Regions from separate parts of the Homo sapiens genome. Here region 2 is linked to region 1. Evidence: promoter capture Hi-C in 16 types of primary human blood cells and fetal thymus (Javierre and others, 2016). All regions are on one chromosome and are shown on one strand. Each heading gives the region's core, a stretch centred on a gene start or on the middle of the fragment in contact. The rest is flanking DNA. Distances are from core to core; before and after follow the strand shown. Region 1 holds the start of CMPK1 (cytidine/uridine monophosphate kinase 1). Region 2 overlaps TMEM69 (transmembrane protein 69).

Region 1 (6,051 bases), core at 2,229-4,728:
TATGTCACCCAGGCTGCACTGCAGTGGCGTGATCTTGGCTCACTGCAAGCTCCGCCTCCCCGGTTCATGCCATTCTCCTGCCTCAGCCTCCCAAGTAGCTGGGACTACAGGCGCCTGCCACCACGCCCGGCTAATTTTTGTATTTTTAGTAGAGATGGGGTTTCACCTTGTTAGCCAGGATGGTCTCAATCTCCTGACCTCGTGATCCACCCGCCTGGGCCTCCCAAACTGCTGGGATTACAGGCGTGAGCTACTGCGCCCAGCCCTGAATGTGTAGATTATTTTTTAACCAGTGTAGTAGTATGGGTATTATTAATTTAGGTACAGATATTTTAAAGGCATATTATGATTCAGAAACAGCATACTGTATTTAAATGCATTCAAATATAACACGCATAAAGTAATTTAAAAGAAAAATACTATTTTGCAATAAAAATAACCAGGCCAGGCATGGCGGCTCATGCCTGTAATGCCAACACTTTGAGAAGCCAAGGCAGTAAGATCCCTTGAGTCTGGGAGTTCGAGACCAGCCTGGGCAATATAGTGAGCCCTGGTTTCTACAAAAACCTGAAAAAAAGTTAGCAGAGAGTGGCAGTGCACACCTGTCATCCCAGCTACTTGGGAGACTGAGGTGAGAGGATGGCTTGAGCCCAGGAGGCAGAGGTTGGAGTGGGCCAAGATGGTACCACAGCACTCCAGCCTGGGTGACACAGAGAGACTCGATCTCAAAACAAACAACAACAACAAAACCCACCAATAAAAATAACCAATATAATAAGATCAGGAAGTTTAAAGTAGAGGTAATAAGATCAGAAGTTTAAAGTGGAGAAAAAAACTATCTGCATCTGTCTCTGTGTGCCAGATATTTTACCTCATTTAATATTCACAAATACCATACAAAACAGCCATTTCTATGTTTTCCCTTTTCACAGGGAACTAAAGGCAACAACATCTCTGGGCCTAGAGAAACAGTAAATGGCAGAGTCAGGGTTTGAACCTATATCTCTTTGACTCTAAAGTCTTTGCCCCTTCCCCCATCATGCTATTTAAGAAAGATCACATATACTAAACAAAAATTTGAAATCACTCCCACTTTTCACTTGCCATTTATTTATTTATTTATTTATTTCTGAGACGGAGTCTCGCTCTGTCGCCCAGGCTGGAGTGCAGCAGCCAGTCTCTTTACTTTTTAAAAGACAAGTGACAAGGCCAGGCACGGTGGCTCATGCCTATAATCCCAGCACTTTGGGAGGCTGAGGCGGGCAGATCACGAGGTCAAGAGTTCGAGATCAGCCTGGCCAACATGGTGAAACCCTGTCTCTACCAAAAATACAAAAATTAGCCAGGCGTGGTGGCGCACGCCTGTAATCCCAGCTATGCAGAGGCTGAGGCAGGAAAATCGCTTGAACCTGGGAGGCGGAGGTTGCAGTGTGCTGAGATCGCACCACCGCACTCCAGCCTGGTGACGGAGTGAGACTGTCACAAAAACAAAAACAAAAACAAAAAAACAACAAAAGAAAGAGAACCAACAAAAAAAAATTTTTTTAAGAGGATGTAAATGTTATGTATTTTTTTAGTTGGACTAGTTCCACTTTGACACCTAAAATGATTTTTTTTTTTTTTTTTTTTTTGAGACGGAGTTTCACTCTTTCGCCCAGGCTAGTGTGCAGTGGCGCGATATGGGCTCACCGCAACCTCCGCCTTCCGGTTTCAAGCGATTCTCCTGCCTCAGCCTTCGGAGTAGCTGGGATTACAGGCGCCCGCCACCACGCCAGGCTAATTTTTGTATTTTTAGTAAAGACAACGTTTCGCCATGTTAGCCAGGCTGGTCTCGAACTCCTGACCTCGTGATCCGCCAGCCTCGGCCTCCCAAAGTGCTGGGATTACAGGAGTGAGCCACAGCGCCTGGCAAAATGATCAATATTTATAAATACATCTGTCCAACACATAATGACTTGTTGAACTCATCTAACTTTCTCTGGATGCTATTTAGGGAATAAAATACAGGACAGGAGTTGATTGTTATGAACATATAAGGAGAGAAGCAAAAGCCCCATGCTAATATTGGCCATATCCTAGAAGAGGAGGAAATTATAAGTTCTAGGTCAAAAAAACTTTTGTTGGTTACAGGGTTTCAGAGTGATTTCACTAGAGGCCACCAATGGTCGCCTCTTCTGTTTCTAGATATCCTGTTTTCCTTCTTTCCCAAGCATTCCCCAGATTGTCCATGAAGCCTTTTTTTCCCACAGTGTCAATGCAGCTAACCAACCATACATCTAGCTCAAAAATTGTTAAAAGAATTGAACTGGTAACCTGTCTCAAAGCAAAAGAAAAAAAAGTAACAGCATTTTACATTTGGGAGGTGTTTTATATCCTGAGAAAATCTGGGTTCAGAGACTCTTTTTACTGTATTACAAGGGCTAACTGAGGCTGGGAGACAGGAAGTGACCGAGGGCCGAGCGTGAGTTGGCAGCAGGGCCAAAGGTTGAAGCTTGATCTCAGAACAGCACTCCCGGCTTTCCCCATCCCCGACCCGGGCCGAGCCTCAGGGCTGGCTCCGCCCTAAAGCTTGCGGGGACGGGGCTCGAGAGTGCCAGCGGCAGCCCACAGCACGCCTAAAATAACACCCCGCCCCACGGGCCTCCTTTCTAGAGTAAAGACACGTTCGGTGACAGTGCGGAGTTTAGGGAACCAGAGGGAAGGCGCGGAGAAGAAAAATAGGTCTCTCCTTCAGACAACTGTGGGCGCACACGGCCTCTAACCCAAATCCGCGCTCCTGCTGCCTTCACCTGCCACACGATCAGCGACACGCTAACCTCTGCGCGCTGGGGGACCCCCAAAGGTTGGCCTCCGGGATCCCTCTCCCAGCCCACTCTAGAGACGAATCTGGTCCCCAAAATGTAAGAAAAGAAGGGGCGCAGGAACAAAGCGACCTCAAGCGGTGGCCCCCAAGGCGGGCGGGCGCGGACTACAAGTCCCGGCACGCCGCGCGCCGGCGGCCCTCGGCCACTGCCACGCGGGCGGCGCGGTGGCCGCCGGGACTCGTAGTCTGCGGCTCGGCGACTCCGCGGGGCGCGGACTAGGGGCGGCGGGACAGGCCGGCCCGCATCCCGTCAAGCCCCAAGGAGCCCGCCTGCTGCCCGGGCCTCACCTCGACGATGCGGGCGCACTGGGTCCCCTTGCCGGCGCCGGGGCCGCCGAGGACGAACACGACCAGCGGCTTCATGAGACGTGGAGAGCAGAGGAGAATCGGCCGGCGGGTCTGCAGCAGGAAGCTAAGGCCCAGGACGTGGAGCAGCCCGCTGCGGCAGCGGCTCAGCATACACCGCGCCTCGGCCGGACGCTGAGGGAGCTGACAGCGGCCGGCGCGGCGCGGGGCGGGGCGGGGAGGCGGCGGGAGAAAGGGGCGGGCTGAGCCGGCGCCCGCCGCGGCCCCGCCGCCGTGGCTGCCCGGGCGTCCGCGGCCCTGTCGGAAGGGGAGGAGCTTCGCACGGCGGCGGCGTCTCGGCGACACTCGTGCGGTCCGCGCCAGCTTTCCTCCAACCCTTGGGTGGTTATTAGTGCTTTCTGACTGCAGATATTTTATCCTGCGCCCTCAAGTGTCTGGTGCTGAGCTGGAGGCTGGGACGTGATCCGCGGGAGAGCAAAACCTATTGTCTCTGCTCGCAATGAGTTTCCATTCCAGCCAGTGAGGTATGGGGAGGTAGCCAGTGTGAATGAGTAAACACCAGTACATACAAAAGGCAGTACGATTTTGAAGAAATAACAAGTAGGACATAAGATGGCCAGGGTCGCCAGAGAAGGCTTCAGAAGAGGTGACATTCAAGCCAAGACAAAAGGATAGAAAAGAGCGAAACCAGGCAAACACCAGGATAGAGTGTCCCACAGAGAAAAGCATGTGCAAAAAATCTAAGTTGGTTTGGCATGTTAAAGCAATTGAAGGAAGGCCTGGCTGGGCGCGGTGGCTCACGCCTGTAATCCCAGCATTTTGGGAGGCTGAGGCAGGAGGATGGCTTGAGCCCAGGAGTTCGAGACCAGCCTGGACAACATGACGAGACCCCGTCTCGACCAAAAATTTAAAAGCCGGGCACCGTGACCCGTGCCTGTGATCCCAGCTACTGGGATGTTCACTTGAGCCTAGGAGCCGTAATAGCACCACTGCACTCCTGCCTAGGTGACAATGAGACTGCTTCAAAAAAAAAAAAGGAAAAAAGGCCAGTGACAGTGAGACCAGGGCTGAGTCAAATGAGGGGAGAATGGAAGGTGAAAAGTTGAGAAAGTGAGGTCGGTGGCAGATCAGGACTTTTGATTATGGAAAGGAATTTGGGCTGTATTCTAACAGCAATGGAAGCCCTTTAACTCCGTTCGCCTGCCCCCTTCATTAGGGAAGAATCTTAAGGGAGAAGAAAAGGAGACGTTCAAGAACTGAGCCTTGGTGCATACAGGCCTTTAAAAGGCCTTCTGGCCAACGTTAAGAGCTCATTTGATATTTGAGGTAACGGATTCAAAATAATTGAAGATGTTTGGCCATTCAGGCACAGGCAGAGAAGGCAGCTTGTTGCATTTACTGAGGGTTGGGATTTTGCCTGGCAAGTACAACAGAGAGAGGGGGCCAAGTGATGAGAGTGTTTGGAAGAGAATGTTCATGATGCTGTGTGTAGAATCAAAACCATACAGGAAAGCAAATAATGGCACATGAAGCCTGGTAGTGGAGGGGTTGGAGGGTGGTGGGGAAAGGGACCAATGTCTTAGAGCATTGGCCCAAGAAAGATTGCAGTGGGGTATATGAGCAAGTGCTCTGGCAGTATGGATGCTGCTGGTCTGAGTGGGATATTTGGAATTGAAATGTCCCAGCTTCTGAGTTTCTGATGATGCCAAGGTCCAGGGTGAGACCATGGGAATGGAAGACTGAGGCAGAATGCATGTCCTGTTTTTAGAACTAAGAGTCCAGGGTGTTAGATTTGTCGTACAGGTACAAGTTCAAGTCAGATAGTGCTGGAGTGAACAAAGACTATGGGAAAGGAACTAAGCTGTTTAGGGCAGAGTGACCAGGACGTTAGTAAACGAAAGCAAACAGGAGAGGAAGATAGTGGTATAGCCCTCTGTCTGACCACCCCCATTCTCCTTTTTCTTTTGGTGGTCCTTTCTTAGCTCACTCAGCATTTTCTGGCTCTTCCCCATCTCTACTCTCTCTCCTTGCTTTCTTTTTGTTGTTGTTGTTTTTACTTATTCCCATCCTTCCTACCCTTCTTTTCCCATTTATAAGTCCCTCCCTTCTCCCTGTCTCTTTTCCTGTCCTTCTCCTCACCTACTTGCCTTTGTTTGCCCTTCTTTTCCATTCTCCCTTTAATTTCTACCTCTTTCCTCTCCACAACTTCTACCTTTTCCTTCCCACCATAGAAAGGAGAATGGGATATTTTTTATTATCACAGCTGGAAAAAAATTTTTTTGGGGGGGATAGAGTCTCACTCTGTCACCCACGCTGGAATGCAGTGGTGCCATCTTGGCTCACTGCAACCTCCACCTCCCAGGTTCAAGCGATTCTTCTGCCTCAGCCTCCCAAGTAGCTGGGATTACAGGCACCTGCCACCACCCCTGGTTAATTTTTGTATTTTTAGTAGAGAGGGGGTTTCACCATGTTGTCCAGGCTGGTCTTGAACTCCTGGGCTCAAGTGATCCTCCTGCCTTGGCCTCCCAAAGTGCTGGGATTGCAGGCATGAGCCACCGCGCCCAGCCAGGCCTACACTACACTACAGGTGGTGGTGTGCACCTGTAGTCCCAGATGCTCGGAAGGCTGAGATGGGAGGCTGAGGTGGGAGGATCCCTTGAGCCCAGGAGGTGGAGGCTGAGGTGGGAGCAGCCCTTGAGCCTAGGAGGTGCAAACTCCAGTGAGCCAAGATCGTGCTACTACATTCTAACCTGGGCAACAGAGCCAGACCCTGTCTCAAAACAAAAACAAAACATTTTTCTATGGATACTGAAATTTGAATTTATATAATTTGCATGTGTCCCAAAATATTATTTATTTTTATTTTTAAAATCCATTTTAAA
Region 2 (6,051 bases), core at 2,512-5,011, 1.6 Mb after region 1:
GGTTGCGGTGAGCCAAGATCGTGCCACTGCACTCCAGCCTAGGCGACAGAATGAAACTCCATCTCAAAAAAAAAGATGTAGAACTAGATAGGCCTGCTCATTAGAATATCAAGATGGCTCCAGCTTGACTTTTCTTTCCTAATTTATATGTACTAGTGGCTTTATTTTAAATAGTTTCCTTTGAAAATAATCATTTTGACCAGCTATTATGTGTTTGGTGGTAAGGGACAAGTTGTTATCTGTACCATGCCAAATATCCTAATAAAAACTGGAAAACATGTCCAACTTACCTTTGAATGTGGCTTTCCCTCATGACACTGCTCCCTACTGACTTTAGAGCCATAGATCCTTTTAGCTCATATAATTGGGTTATACCATGTGAAATAAGTTTGGACATGCCTTTCCCAGTGGTAACTCCTGTGAAAACTCAATGGAACTACCTTTTCTTTTCAGATACTCACAGATACGAGGTTTTCCGCTTGAAGTGGGAGAATATGTGCATTCTTTTCAATGATCACAAGACTCTAACAAAGGGGATTTTTAATCTTTAATTTTCAAGATGGTTAAAATATTGAAATGTTTAAGTGGATAACTATATTATTCATAAAATGACTGAGTGAAAACTAATATACTATGAGATGAAAAGTACTTGTCAGGGATTTTCAAGCTTTTGCTCAAGTAATTACCATGAAGTAACAATTTCTAGAAATGAAGAACAATCTGTGAAGATAAATTACCATTGGTGTGGGGAAAAAAAGCCAAACAGAAGTAGAAAAAGGTGTAGCTGGCATACAAATGTTATCTACAGTGTATTTATATATATATATTTTTAAAACTTTTAACTAAAAAGTAAACTTTAATGTCGAAAATGCAAACTTGGGGAAGACAGAAAAGATCACACACAAGGCTGTCACTTCACACGTGGAAGGTTGCACAGCGGCCGGGCAGAGGCGCTTGTCACACTTCCCAGATGGTCAGGCGGCCAGGCAGAGGCGCTCCTCACTTCCCAGACGGGGCAGCAGCTGGGCAGAGGTGCTCCTCACTTCCCAGACTTTTATATTTTTTATACTTGACCAGGTCTCTTATGTCCTTTTTCTGGAAAACTACTTTTAACTACTAAAGTGATTATAAATGAAAAAGTGGCCAATAAAGTGACTACTATCCTCAGGGCTTTAAACCAGTTGGGATAATGTGGTAAGAGAAAAAGTTCAAGGTGGAATGCTACTCCCATACCCATTATTACTGTGACTATGGCTTCACTAAGTCTTTCAGAAATAAGGAAGGCAAACCATGAAAAGAAAAGAGGAGCTGCACTGCTAGCTAAATTAAGGTAGTCTGGTTTGGCTGGACTACCTTCTGGTAGAGCAAAACCCCATCTGATCCCACCCAAGAAAGATAGGAAACTGGCTCCATAAGCCATCTGAGTAAAAGCTAATATGGGAATATAAGTTTTTGTCATCAGCATGACCAGTGGTGGAGCAACGAAGGGGATTAGTCCTGCCAGAGTTACACATAATGCTGGCTTTGGGCTGTCAGTTAGGTAAGTGATGGTGCTTGAGGGTCTGGCTAGAAGTGCTTGCTTCTGCTGCTTTTTAAAGCTGCAGGGGGATGTATGATAGCACTGTGTCTTGCTCATATACGCTGGAAATGATGAGGAAAGCCAAGGCCTTGGACATGGGGAAAAGTTTTGCTGGAGAGACATCTTGAGAGAAAGTATATCTGTTCTGCTGGTTCTTAGTCCCACTGGGAAAGAGTACTTCAGTATCTACAAAGAAAATAGAACCAAAAGACAAAATTAAAAATATATATATGTATCATCAGATTTTAGTCAATCCCAGTATGAAATAATGGGGATTGTTTGAAAGGAGCAAACAAAAAAGATCTGCTTTCCATTACCACATCAAACTATACAGAAAGGATGAACTAATAACTCTGAAGTGATATTATTGCTGGTAAGAGTATTAAATGGCTATACAATGTACAAAAGAAACCACTGAACACAAACTAGTGATATATTTCAACCTACCACTTAATCTTATTCCATGAGAAAAATATCTGAAAGAGGAGCAGGTAAAGACTAGATCTTCAGAATTTGGCCTTCTAAACTGCCTCTTTTATTTATAAATAGCAAAAGCAGCAGCACTAATTACCGTGGGAATGCTGTTTTTATATGGAGAAAATAAATCTACCTTCCAACTTAGTTTTATGAACACCACATACTTTTCACAGTTCCACACCTTTGTGTATGCTCTGCCTAGAATTCTAGCTCTTACTACTTTCCTATCTAGGAAACTTACCTCAACATTCAAAATTCAACTTAAAGCTTTCCTTTACCCTTCTACGGTCTGATTTAATGCTCCTATAGTAAGCACCCTGTGCACACTTCCATCATAATTCTTCTCACAGTGAATTAAAATTGTGTGTTTACTTGTCTTTGTCTCAGTAGACTTGAGAGCCAGGACCGTATTTTTTTCCTTGCCTTAAAATCCCCACTGCCTTTCATTGTACACGGGCAAAGTAATAACCTTTCCTGCTGATTCTGTGTTTTAGTGACCAGACTTCAACTAAAAAGTGTTGCATTAAAGAAAAAATTGAAGTTATTGAAGAATCTCAGTGATTACTCAAACATGCTAGGAATGGTTCCATCTTGGAACCATTTCCCTGTTTCCATATTTACTGCTCTTCCCTCAGTTACCTACTTCCGATCCCCTGCCATTTGTAAGTCCAATCCTACGTCTTGACACTACCTATTGCCCTTCCCTGCTTTATAGTTCTCCACAGCATTTACCAGTTGATGTATTAATTTTTATTTTTATTTTTTTGAGACCGAGTTTTGCTCTATCACCCAGGCTGGAGTGCAGTGGTACAATCTCTGCTCACTGCAACCTCTGCCTCCCAGGTTCAAGCGATTCTCTGCCTCAGCCTCCTGAGTAGCTGGGATTACAGGCGTCCGCCACCATGCCCAGCTAATTTTTGTATTTTTAGTAGAGACAGGGTTTCACCATGTTGTCCAGGCTGGTCTCGAACTCCTGACCTCACGTGATCTGCCCGCCTTGGCATCCCAAAGTTTTGGGATTACAGGAGTGAGTGACCGTGCCTGGCCTTATTTTTTTTAATTTTTACTTTTTGAGATGAATTATTCCTCTGTCACCCAAGCCAGAGTGCAGTGGCACAATCTCGGCTCACTGCAACCTTTGCTTCCTGGGTTCAAGTGATTCTTCTGCCTCAGCCCCCCAGGTAGCTGGGACTACGGGCGCCTACCACCATGCTGAGCTAATTTTTGTATTTTTCCGTGGAGACAAGGGTTTTACCATGTTGGCCAGGCAGGTACTGAACTCCTGACCTCAAGTGATCCACCTGCCTCAACTCCCAAAGTGCTGGGATTTCAGCCGTAAGCCACGGCACCTAGCCAATTTTTTTTTTTTTTAAACATCGTCTTGCTGTGTCACCCAGGCTGCAGTGCAGTGGCATGATCTCAGCTCACTGCAGCCTCAACCTCCTGGGCTCAAGCGATCCTCCTCTCTCAGCCTCCCAGGTAGCTGGGGCTATAGGCGTGTGACCCCATGCCCAGCTAATTTTTTGTAGAGATGGGGTTTTGCCATGTGCCCAGACTGGTCTTGAACTCCTTGAGCTCAAGTGATCCCACCCACCTCGGCCTGCCAAATTGCTGGGACTACAGGCGTGAGCCACTGCACCCAGCCTGATATAATAAACATTTTACTTACTTGTATTTTACTTAACTCTTCCCTCCATCACCTGAATATACAAGGGTAAGGATTTTTGTCTTTTTCACTGCTACTGACCTAGCCCAAGCAATATTTGGCAAATAGTGCTCAAATATCTGCTGAACAAACCAACCTTTGAAGATGCTTGAGAAAACTTCTGGATGAAGCGAAGCATACTGGCCCCTATTGAAAGTCTTGTTCAGGAAGATGCCAGGTAGTTCTGATTAACATGTTACAGCTAAGCAGAGGCACTGAATCAGGGGCATGTTTCTGTGTATAACACAAGGTGTCACTTAATTTTCCTCATTTTATACATTAATTTTTAAATAGTAGTAATTCATGAATATAACACTTTCCTTTGAAAAGAATCATTAATGTTTTCAAACTGTCGGTAACACAGTAACAAAATAGATCCTTTTAGTATCTGAACTGTTCTTTTAGCTTTGGCTGTCTAGTGTAATAGAAAGAGTAATGCACATAGAGATTTTACAGATACTTCCACCATTTCCTAGCTGTGTGACACTGGGCAAATTGCTTGAGTACTGGTTTTCTCATCTTTAAAATGAAGGGTCTTCTAAGTGGTGTTTTTGTGAAATTAAAAAAAAAACCAAAACAAAACTGGAAGGTCATAGCTTCTGTTTCCTTTTTTCCTCCTATTTTGGGGCTTAAGAGTTCACAACTCAAAATAACGATAGTACCAACCAATATAATTTAGGTTTTTTTAATTTGTTTGTTTGTTTTGAGACAAGAGTCTTGCTGTGTCGCCCAGGCTGGAGTGCAGTGGCGCGATCTTGGCTCACTGCATCATCTGCCTACCGGGTTCAAGCAATTCTTGTGCCTCAGCCTCCCAAGTAGCTGGGATTACAAGCTCCTGCCACCATGTCTGGCCAATTTTTGTATTTTCAGGAGAGATGGGGTTTCGCCATGTTGGCCAGGCTGGTCCTGAACTCCTGACCTCAGGTGATCCAACTGCCTAGGCCTCCCAAAGTGTTGGGATTACAGGCATGAGCCACCGCGCCCGGTGAGCATTAACTCATTTAATGCTCAAAATAACCTCATTAACTTAGTACTGAGAGAGAATAGCCTGTTGGAGTGCAGACTTTGGTGTCAAACTTGGTTGGAATCCTGGCTCCACTACTTATTAGCTGTGTGTCTTTGAACAAATTATTTAATCTTGTTATGGTGCAGTTCATTCACCTTTGAAATATGGATACTAATTCATAGGGTTGATGTAACATTTTTTTTTTTGGATACAGGGTCTCGCTCTGTCACCCAATCTGGACTGCAGTGGCGTGCTCTCCGCTGTCTGCAGCCTTGACCTCCCGGGATCGAGGGATCTTACCACCTCAGCCCTCTAAGGAGCTGGGACTACAGGCCACGCCACCATGCCCAGCCAATTTTTTTTTGAGACGGAGTCTTGCTCTGTCGCCCAGGGTGGAGTGCAGTGGTGCCATCTCAGCTCACTGCAAGCTTCGCCTCCCAGGTTCATGCCATTCTCCTGCCTCAGCCTCCTGAGTAGCTGGGACTACAGGCATATGCCACCACGCCCAGCTCATTTTTTGTATTTTTAGTAGAGACGGAGTTTCACCATGTTAGGATGGTCTCGATCTCCTGACCTCGTGATCCGCCTGCTTTGGCCTCCCAAAGTGCTGGGATTACAGGCATTAGGCACCGTGCCTGGCCCCAATTTTTGTATTTTTTGTATAGAAGGGGTTTTGCCATATTGCTCAGGCTGGTCTTGAACTCCTGAGCTCAAGCAATCCACCTGCCTCGGCCTCCCAAAGTGCTGGGATTGCAGGTGTGTGCCACTTAGCCTGATATAACACTTAATAAGTTACTACATGTAAATAGCTGAGAACCGTCCCTGACACAAAGCACTTTACACAGGAGGGACTGATTAAAAACTCTAATGTAAGCAGCCAGTAAAAACAGGTGAATGATAATATGGATCTAGATCTGACAATTTCATTCTTAACCAAGAGAATGGGATGTCTAAAAAAACCTACAGTTGCTGCTTAATTTTAAAAAATCGATTGGGCAGGGCGCAGTGACTCGCTCCTGTAAGCCCAGCAGTTTGGGAGGCCGAGGTGGGTGGATCACGAGGTCAGGAGTTCGAGACCAGCCTGGCCAACGTAGTGAACCTCCCCCCCGTCTCTACTAAAAATACAAAAAATTAGCTGGGCGTGGTGGCAGGCGCCTGTAATCCCAGCTACTCGGGAGGCTGAGGCAGGAGAATTGCTTGAACCTGGGAGGCGGAGGTTGCAGTGAGCCGAGATCGCGCCATTGCACTCCAGCCCACGAGACAGTGCGAAGCTCCGTCTCAAAA

What was found. The method cuts DNA at HindIII sites, captures the fragments that hold promoters and counts their contacts. A CHiCAGO score of 5 or more calls a contact.
Region 2: a fragment that was not itself captured here is called in contact with the fragment with the promoter of CMPK1 in region 1 in 1 of 17 cell types (neutrophils); the score reaches 5.5 in neutrophils.

What each region holds. Positions count from the first base shown.
Region 1 is chr1:47,331,217-47,337,267 of GRCh38, reverse strand. CMPK1 (cytidine/uridine monophosphate kinase 1) reads right to left here and starts at 3,478. Exons shown (of 6, transcript NM_016308.3): 1 at 3,152-3,478. The coding sequence starts at 3,322. RefSeq lists enhancers at 2,356-2,415, 1,932-2,735, 2,736-3,539 and a silencer at 2,926-3,565. The HindIII fragment of the contact is 8,075 bases long and covers 2,571-6,051 here.
Region 2 is chr1:45,688,918-45,694,968 of GRCh38, reverse strand. It overlaps TMEM69 (transmembrane protein 69), which reads right to left. Exons shown (of 3, transcript NM_016486.4): 2 at 3,859-3,995; 3 at 533-1,765. The coding sequence starts at 3,900. The coding sequence ends at 1,064. It also overlaps a transcript of IPP not described here. Among named protein-coding and RNA genes, the nearest start is that of TMEM69, 3.8 kb to the right of the region's middle. The HindIII fragment of the contact is 2,872 bases long and covers 2,326-5,197 here.